Regions from separate parts of the Homo sapiens genome. Here region 1 is linked to region 2. Evidence: promoter capture Hi-C in human tissues and cell types (Jung and others, 2019). All regions are on one chromosome and are shown on one strand. The core of a region is centred on a gene start or on the middle of the fragment in contact, and the rest is flanking DNA. Distances in the headings are between cores, read along the strand shown. Region 1 has its middle 32 kb from the start of SPARCL1. Region 2 holds the start of SPP1 (secreted phosphoprotein 1).

Region 1 (5,382 bases), core at 2,509-5,008, 420 kb after region 2:
GATCAGATAGTTGTAGATATGCGGCATTATTTCTGAGGGCTCTGTTCTGTTCCATTGATCTATATCTCTGTTTTGGTACCAGTACCATGCTGTTTTGGTTACTGTAGCCTTGTAGTATAGTTTGAAGTCAGGTAGTGTGATGCCTCCAGCTTTGTTCTTTTGGCTTAGGATTGACTTGGCGATGCGGGCTCTTTTTTGGTTCCATATGAACTTTAAAGTAGTTTTTTCCAATTCTGTGAAGAAAGTCATTGGTAGCTTGATGGGGATGGCATTGAATCTGTAAATTACCTTGGGCAGTATGGCCATTTTCACGATATTGATTCTTCCTACCCATGAGCATGGAATGTTCTTCCATTTGTTTGTGTCCTCTTTTATTTCCTTGAGCAGTGGTTTGTAGTTCTCCTTGAAGAGGTCCTTCACATCCCTTGTAAGTTGGATTCCTAGGTATTTTATTCTCTTTGAAGCAATTGTGAATGGGAGTTCACCCATGATTTGGCTCTCTGTTTGTCTGTTGTTGGTGTATAAGAATGCTTGTGATTTTTGTACATTGATTTTGTATCCTGAGACTTTGCTGAAGTTGCTTATCAGCTTAAGGAGATTTTGGGCTGAGACGATGGGGTTTTCTAGATAAACAATCATGTCGTCTGCAAACAGGGACAATTTGACTTCCTCTTTTCCTAATTGAATACCCTTTATTTCCTTCTCCTGCCTGATTGCCCTGGCCAGAACTTCCAACACTATGTTGAATAGGAGCGGTGAGAGAGGGCATCCCTGTCTTGTGCCAGTTTTCAAAGGGAATGCTTCCAGTTTTTGCCCATTCAGTATGATATTGGCTGTGGGTTTGTCATAGATAGCTCTTATTATTTTGAAATACGTCCCATCAATACCTAAAATATTGGCAAACCGAATCCAGCAGCACATCAAAAAGCTTATCCACCATGATCAAGTGGGCTTCATCCCTGGGATGCAAGGCTGGTTCAATATACGCAAATCAATAAATGTAATCCAGCATATAAACAGAGCCAAAGACAAAAACCACATGATTATCTCAATAGATGCAGAAAAAGCCTTTGACAAAATTCAACAACCCTTCATGTTGTTTGTAACTTTTTAAAATGTGTTTTGTAGTACATGTAACCTTTTGAGAGCTTAATTTTTATTCAAATTATATTTCTAGCATCGTTTATATTCATTTTCTTTCCAGTAAGATATTTTATTGTATGAAGGTACCACAATTTATCTCTTCTCCTGTCATGAGGCATGTAAGTTTTTTTCAAAGCTTTTGCTATTTCAAACAGAAATGCTTCCATGGACATTCTTGTAGATGTCTCCTAATGTACACCTGCAATAATTTCTTTTGAGTATATGCCCAGTGTAGAATTACTCATCATAGATATATGAGTCTCCAGCTTTAAGAGATAATGCCAAATTCCTTGCTAAAGTGGTTGAACACTCCCACCAGCAAACTATAAACTAATCTACTGATCCACAACCTTCCCAATATTTTGTGTTATTAGACTTTTTAAACTTGCCAATTTACTATGTTTAAAATAGTATCTCATTGTCATCCTGATTTTTGGTTATCCATTTCACTGATCACTAATGAACTTGAGTATCTCTTTGTAGGTTTATTGGCCATATGTTTTATCTCTTCTGTGAGCTTCCTATTCATGGCTTTTGTCCATTTTTAAATCACTGGTATGGCCATTCTTTATTAGCTTACAGATGTCCTTTAGGTCCTTTAGATATTATTGCTATCAATTCTTTGCCAGGGTGTCATGAATATTTTGTCTCAGTTTATTTTTCCACTTTCTTCAAAATATCTTTTAATATTCAGACATTTTCAGTTTTAATATATTAAATTTATTGTCAGAGACATCTGCTGTCATAGAAGTTTAAGGGATAGCCTTGAAGGGTGGTGGTAAGAGAAATTTTCCACATGATTAGAGCTTCAAGCTGGGTACCTGATCATCCACTTTGTACAAAAAAGGAAGTGATCCAAGATTAAAATATACATGGACTTATGGACAGTGGCCAACGCATGGCCTGCTGGTCAGGGACTGTACTAGTTTCACTGAGCTGCCATGGAAATGACCACAAATTGAGCAGCTTCAGTTTACTCCCTCTTGGCTGGGTACAGTGATTCACTCCTATAATTCCAGAGCTTTGGGAGGCCAAGGCAGGAGGATCTCTTGAGGCCAGGAGTTCAAGATCAGCCTGGGCAATGTAGCAAGACTCTGTCTCTACAAAAAAAATAAAAATAATTTACTCCCTCATGGTTTAGGAGGCCAGAAGTCTGAAATCAAGTTGTCAGCAGGGTTGGTTTTTCTGGAGGCTCCAAGGAAGAAAGCATCCCGGGCCTCTCTCCTAGCTTCTGGTGATTGCTGGCAATTCTTGGTGTTCCTTGACTTGCAGACTCATCATTCCAATTTCTGCCACTGTTGTCATATCACCTTCTTCCCTATGGAGCTCTCTTGTGCTCTCCTCTTCTTATAAAAACACAAGTCAAGATATGTTCAGGACGATTCCAAGATGTTTCATCTCAAGATTTTTAACCAATTGCATCTGCAAAGACACTATTTTCAAATAAGGTCACATTCTGAGGTTTGAGGTGGACATGAATTTTGGGGGGACACTGTTCAACCCACCACAGGGGCTTAAAAAAGGAAAAGATTGGAAAATCTAGAAAAAGGAGATGTTGGAAATAGACATGCAGTTGGACATTAAAGAACAAGCATGAAGAATGAAGAGTTTCATGAGACATGTTAACACCCACCAAAGAGTGCCAACATGGAAGGAACACCAAACAGCCAGTCATAGACAAAATGACTCAGCCAACTCACATCAGTCAGCCTCTGTCATCAGCAACCCCAATCAGATGGCCAAGTGGATGAAGTAACCATCATGGCAGGGAGAGAGGCTATGCATATGTCCAACCTAGGTTCCCATTCATCAAGGTTGATTTAGCTGCTACTCCTGCCAAACGTACAACCTGCGAGCAAGAGAGACTAGTGCTGAGTGCTCCATACAGCATCACACTCTTTGGCCTCTTGTTTTCCTCATTCGACAATAATTTATGGAAATTCCTGCAAATTATTTGGATGCCCTCTAATTCATTATTTTTAATGGCCACATAATAGTCCATGGCATTCCAAAGCTTTTCCTACAACGGCCTCCTTTCATGTTATGACATCCTGTCAACTTCCTCTGATGGTAGGAAAATGGAACAAGTTGCCAAGAGCAATTGACTATGAGGATACCTGAGAAGATCCTGTCTGACTTGTCTTCTGCCAGTAACATACTTCCTCTCCTCCTGCTCTCATTTCACATCATACAGCAAAAGTTAACAGTTCAGAGCTGAATTTCTACAACTGATAAATTTAATTCTGGGAATTGAGTTATAACGTTAAAATCTATTTCTGGCTACAAGCTAATAAAGCTACTGTTCTCTCAAATAAATGATAAAAACAGAGAAACTCTTTTAAGGACTTTCCAGGAGACTTAGCAGAAAGCTAATAATATTTAAAAAGCTGCAAATACATTCTCAGAGTCACTGTAAATAGAAGAAAGTCAACAGCAAGTATCTAAAACTCTGGTGCAAAATTTCATGTAGCCAGGCGTGGTGGCTCATGCCTCTAATCTCAGCACTTAGGCTGAGGCAGGCAGATCGCCTGAGGTCAGGAGTTCGAGATTAGCCTGGCCAACATGGTGAAACCCCATCTCTACTAAAAATACAAAAATTAGCCGGGCATAGTGGCAGGCGCCTGTAATTCCAGCTACTCACGAGGCTGAGGCAGGAGAATCACTTGAACCGGGGAGGTGGAGGTTGCAGTGAGCCGAGATTGTGCCATTGCACTCCAGCCTGGGTGACAAGAGCAAAACTCTGTCTCAAAAAAAAAAAAAAAAAAGAGAAAGAAAAAGAAAAAGAAGAAAGAAAAGATAAAAGAAAAGTTCATGTAGGTCCTTTTGAGGATCATCATATATCCACACATTTTTCTTAATAATGAGCTAAAATTGATCTAGAAAGGGGTAATGGAAATGGCAAAAGAGAACCTGTCTACCTTCCAATTGTCCTCAGAAAAGCAGCAGCTGCCGTGGGATGCCCTTATATGGCATTTGTTTCCTGTTGTCCCTTGAGTGAAGTCTGCAGGGACACACTAGGGCAACTGGTACTTGCCATTTCCTGGAAGACAACCACAGAGCCGACTCTATAATTACCCGGAGGCCCTGCCTAGGTACCACAGTAGTAATCAGGCATCGGTCACCGGAAGGAGAGACGAATTGGGGCTCTGGATAGATATGCTGAACACAGACAGTGAACCATCCAAACCCCATTTGTACAGAGCCTATCAAGAAAGCTTTGCCTCCACAGATGCTACACAAAACATTGTGTACATGCTACACAAGGCAATGGACAACCACCACAAACTGCTCTGCAGTTCAAAATATCTGAATGAGAGCAAAATTTTATGAATGCAAATAAATAGTGCTGGAGTATCTAGAGATGCAGTTTGCTTTGGCAACAAATCCTGTGTCTTGTCTATCTGGATCTCAGATCAAAAAATCATGACGCCACCAGCTAACTGCCAGTTTTAAGTGACTGCTAGGATGAGTCCTCTAACAATTTCATTTCTCTGCAATGCAGCAAACAGTATATTAGCTAGGGTTAAATCAGCATCTGTGATTTCATAACAAACCAACGAATTCTAATACCATGTCTAAATTATGTGGCTATTTGTAATCACTTCCCTTGGAAGGTATAACCTTGATTGTAACAAATAATGTATCAGATCACCTTCTAAAATACAACTCCTTTTCTTGATTAAAAACTAAATGATTTCACATGATTTGATTTTTATTGTCTCAAGAAATTTCCACAATCTTTTAAGAAGTGGTTTTCAAACTTTATCCCGGGAAATCTTTCTTCAGAAGAAATATTCCCAGAGGGACAGACATATAAAAGCAGAACTCTTTTAATTTGCAGTTTGGCATTTTCCCTCCTATTGCATTGCTCCCTTGTAAAGAAAGAAAGAAATCTGTCATGGCTTATGTGTTAATGTAGTCATTATTTTTAATTTATTGAAATAATTATAAACTCAAGAAAAATTGCAAAAAATAGTACAGAAAGGTCCTGCGGGCCCTTCCCCCAGTTTCCCCCAAAGGTAACATCTTACTTAAGTATAATGCATTATCAAAACCAGGAATACTACTAACTAGACTATAGACTACTAAAATTCCATTGGTTTTCACATGCAGTCATTGTTTTGCATAGTTCTATGAAATGTTATCTCACGTATAGATTCCATCACCACAAAGGAGCTCTGTTGTGATACCCCTTTATAGCCGCACCCGCTCTCCATCCTCATCCTTAATCCTTGGCAA
Region 2 (4,869 bases), core at 1,686-4,185:
GCACTTTGGGAGGCCAAGGAGGGTGGATCACGAGGTCAGGAGATGGAGACCATCCTGGCTAACACGGTGAAACCCCGTCTCTACTAAAAATACAAAAAATTATCCGGGCGTGGTGGCGGGCGCCTGTAGTCCCAGCTACTCAGGAGAATGGGGTGAACCTGGGAGGCGGAGCTTGCAGTGAGCCGAGATCACACCACTGCACTCCAGCCTGGGCGACGGAGCGAGACTCCGTCTCAAAAAAAAAAAAAAAAAAAAAAAAAGAAGGCGGAAAAACAGTGAGACCAGATGAGTTCAGAGTTTTTCTCTTCACTTTTTCATATCTATCTATCTATTCTCATGACACATGTAATACAGGCTCAGAGAGAATGGATGTATAAGTTACATTTATAATTTTTAAAAACTAATATGAAGAAAATAAAGGTAAGCAAAATGAATAGACTAAAAACCACCCAGTAATCCTAACACTCACAGATAACCAGTGTGTATTTTCAGGCATATATCCTTAGAGACTTCCCCAATTTTTTACTAGCTTTAAGTTTCTGGGATTCTAGAAGGCTGAGCCTTGAGCTCTTCACGTATTTCTTAAATTGTTATAGCTCCACGTGCCTTCTAAAATGCATCTTTGCCATATTTTCGTTTATTAAAAAGACGCTAATTCTTGCCTCAAATAGTATGACCTCTATCTTCTCTGGAGATGTTAATTTTTCTGGTTTATTATTAGGATTCAACACCTGTATTTTCAAATCAGTTGAAAAACAGACACACACACCCCTCCACACACAAACGAACACAGAATACTTCTTTTAATGTCTTCATTAAGCAGTCTAATTGCAGTGACCCCCAAGGCAGCTCTATTTTGGCCTTTATTCTGTTCAACTGGAATTGAACTCTGTGTGCCTTTTTGTCCAAGCTTCTGGGGACAATGCCCATTTGTTGTTTGGCTGGCACAGTTTCATCTGTTGTGGAGGGGTAGGTACATCTTTAGTGCTGGTCAAATAATTATAATAAAGAGTTTGGTTGGTCTTATGTTTGGTTAGAAAATGTGATCTAACATCAGCTGACAATCACAATAGATACAAACAGCACACATAGACTTTCTTTTCACAATGGGCTTCTCAGCTAATATCTCAGACAATATTGTGAATATTATGGTCATACAAACAGTTCTGACTAATATCCAATGTGAATTTTAAACTTAGCAATCCACTAAACAAAGCAAAAGCTGGAATTTTCTGCTTTTAGATCAGTATGTGGACTAATGGAAAAAAAGTCACACAACTTCATATAACTTATCTTACATGCGATAACTCATCATACATGCCTAGATATTATTATATTTAAAATATCTGGGTTGGTTTTATAAACTTATATTTATTAAAAACTATACTGTGCTTGGTACTGGCCTAGATTCATAGCAGGCAGTCAATCAATACTTGTAAACCAATGGATTTGACTGAGAAGATAAGTAATATCGCAGCAAATACGTTTCTTGCACCTCTCGCCATAATTGAGTAAATGATTTAACTATATAAAAACATAAAAGATGCTTACCTGCTTTTCCTCAGAACTTCCAGAATCAGCCTGTTTAACCTTAGAAACAGAAAAGATGAAGAAAGATTACAAGAATGTCCTCCTAGCACATGGAAGCACACAATTCAGTTATTTTCAGGAATTTTCTTTAAGATGCAACTGTACTCACTGGTATGGCACAGGTGATGCCTAGGAGGCAAAAGCAAATCACTGCAATTCTCATGGTAGTGAGTTTTCCTGCAAAATATTTCATAAGGAATAGCTGACATCTTCATAGGTTACAACAGTGATACCTTTTTATACTACCACATTACAAAATGATCACAAATAAAATATATTTTCTATAGAATCTTTTCTACTTCTTAGAGATGCCTTTTCTTTTTAGTATTATAGTCTTTCAAGTTAATATTTATATTGCCACCTATTATCCATCTTTCACTATTAGGCAAGGGAAAGGGAAATTTTGCAAGTCTGTATTTATTCAACTTTAAAATTTAGAGTTCCAGAAATTATACCATTACTACCTTATATATCTAGCTCTCTAAACCTACAAACAGATCAACAGTAACTTAATTATATTAATAAGCTAGTATGGGAATATTTTTTAGAGAAGAAAAAACTCACAGAAAAAAATGAAAAAAATTTGCTTTATCCATTTTTCCAACATGTACTTTAAATGTGACTTTTAGCTTAATTATCAAGTAGGTGCTACTTAGGTGAAATCAAACTATCTCTGAAATTTGTTATTTAAGTAAGATGTTCTAAAAATTTGAAATTCAAAGGAAAACATTGAAAATAGCCAACAGCTTTTCTATTTGTAATAATAAGCCTACACAGTGTCATACAGGTATCTTGGTGAATATTTTAACAGCTAAATTTAGCAGTGGCATATTCAGAAAGGGTTTTCTTCCCCTTAAAAGTGAGATACATCATTTAAAAAATAGCATTGTAATTGGTTTAATTAGCATAAAAGATCCCTTTTCTTTTAAATTCCTGCACAGTCACCCACTGAAAATTATATAGGTATAATTATTCCAAAGGGGAATTTAATTTTACTATTTTCTGATTAGCATCGGTGGTTTCCGTTCTTTTGAGGACCCAGTGGAAGTATTTTTAAGTTTTAAATTTGATTGGCATTCAAAATATCTAGACACCTTTGTTCCAGGAGACCTGCAATGTATCTAATCTGCTTATTAAAAAGGCTAGAAAATTTAAGTCTGTTTAACAGCATTACAATTAAAAATATTTTTCCTTAGAATTTGGACTTCCCCATGAAATTCAGCTGAATGCACAACCCAGTAGCAAACTGAAGCTGTACCTTGGTCGGCGTTTGGCTGAGAAGGCTGCAACTGGCCTGAGACGAGTCTGGTCCCGACGATGCTGTGCTCTGCCTCCTCCTGCTGCTGCTGACAACCAAGCCCTCCCAGAATTTAAATGCTGCTGCAGACATCCTCCACCAACACAGGGAGGCGGAGAGATTGTGTCATGAGGTTTTCTGCCACTGCCCAGCCCACCTGCTCCCACACTTCCCCCTCTGGTTTTGTGGTTAAAACAAAAAAAAACAAAAACGCACACACACAATCTACAGTTAAAACATTACTTATGTACAATATCATTAACTAGCTTTTTCATTTACGGGATGGGCATTCAGCATCCAGGAAGAGCACTTAGGGATCCCATGAAAAAGGGAGAAAGTAGGGAAAAACATTAATGTAAAATTAAATAGAATGGATTTTTGTTTCTTTCGGTTTAAGTAACATAAAGGTAATATCTGCAACCACTCTTGCCTGTATGATTGTACTTATTGAAGAGCCAGAAGGCTATTGTTCAAGCCTGCAAGGAGTTCAGAAAACTTGCCTCTGTCCTTTACTACTCAAGCTTAGCTTTGTGATTTCGAGTATGCAGTAGCTTGTTACTTAGACAAATGGCACTAGTGACATTAAAATATAAAATTCTATATGAAATAGAAGAATGGTAATTTATTCTAGATGTTGCAGAAGTAAAGCAGTTTCTGACTGAGAGCAGGATGACTGCTTGAGAGGGCTGCTTCAGGAGCCAGACCGTGGTTCTGAATTCCGCTGTGTCACTGCTGACCTGTGCAACCTTGGGCAAATCGCCCAGCCTACCTATCCTTGTTCCCTCATCCATGAAATGCAATACTATTACCTAGGTCATGGGGTTTTTGAGGGGTTTAAATGAATTAGTATGTTAAACTAGCAATGCTTAGCACATATTAGATGCAAATGCTCTGCGTATCTTAAGGACTATATGTGTGTTAACTATTATGAAATTTTTAAGAGGGGCAGGCAGTCACGAATTGTAATGTCCTTTAAAAGAACAGGTTATTAAAATGAGAGTAGACGTAAGATCTTTAAATTGTATGCATCAATAAGGAAATTTTGCACATTTCTAAAGGAACAGATTCGATTTTGGAATCATCTTTTTTTCTAGTTTTTCTCCCAAGGTATGTAAAGTAGGCCACTTAAAAAGAAAAACATTTTTAAAAATTTCTGTATTAAAAAACACTTTACTAGGTATTTAAAAGGTGTCTGAATGAAAGAAAATTACAGGGAAAGTCCGAATATTAGAGCAGAATTCAGGGATAGCAGAGCTCTGGGTCCTTTTAAAATATTTAATATTGCCTTGAGATTACTTATCTTCATTTGCTTTCTCAGTTGTGAAATGCAGATTGCACTATTTATTTACCTTACACCTTTATTGTTAAGACTTGTGTGTAATTGAGATGAAAAATAAATGGTCCTATTTATTATTAGGTTGCTGCAAAAGTAATTGTGGTTTTTATTAGTCCTAAAGTGTCAGCTTCCTTTTGCCAAATATTACTTTTAATATAAATATAGATTAAATAATGTCTTGCAGTGATAGTGTATAGCTAATTCATAGGTTTCATGAACATTTGGTAGGGGGAAATATGTCTCCCTTAAATTGGATGTATTCCAGATGAATTGATATGATTGGTTTGTAGGTAATAAGCACCCATTTTAATAAGTAAGATGACGACTATCTCTATAAAATAGAAAGCACACAGATTATAAAGTTGCAAAATAGACTTCTTTTTTCTGCTTCTAAAAACTATTTTTTTCCTTTAAACATACCCGCATAAGCGTGTCATGTTGTCAATTTAGTGGAGGGAAGTCTGAAAATTCTAAAAACAACAAAATTTCCACAGGATTTACTGTAGTTTACTCTGTGCCCACGGGAATGATTCAATATGAAGCTAGAATTAATTATAGGAATAGATTATGCTGGAGCCCAGCCATCTTGAGATGAACCATACGACCCTTTACAGGACTCTTCTGGTCATAGCTCCGCAGTGCCACA

What was found. The method cuts DNA at HindIII sites, captures the fragments that hold promoters and counts their contacts. A contact is called where the count stands out against the background at its distance.
Region 1: a contact is called between a fragment that was not itself captured here and the fragment with the promoter of SPP1 in region 2, in 1 of the 25 tissues and cell types used here (heart left ventricle).

The regions. Positions count from the first base shown.
Region 1 is chr4:87,558,462-87,563,843 of GRCh38, reverse strand. No RefSeq gene overlaps it. Among named protein-coding and RNA genes, the nearest start is that of SPARCL1, 32 kb to the right of the region's middle. The HindIII fragment of the contact is 3,080 bases long and covers 2,219-5,298 here.
Region 2 is chr4:87,973,780-87,978,648 of GRCh38, reverse strand. It overlaps SPP1 (secreted phosphoprotein 1), which reads right to left and starts at 2,935. Exons shown (of 7, transcript NM_001040058.2): 1 at 2,849-2,935; 2 at 1,700-1,767; 3 at 1,552-1,590. The coding sequence starts at 1,753. RefSeq lists cis regulatory regions at 2,940-2,949, 2,984-2,993, 3,168-3,183, 3,621-3,629, 3,696-3,704 and 1 more, enhancers at 2,962-3,032, 2,795-3,294, 3,657-3,677 and promoters at 2,849-3,062, 2,852-3,939, 2,939-4,869. The HindIII fragment of the contact is 7,576 bases long and covers 1-4,869 here.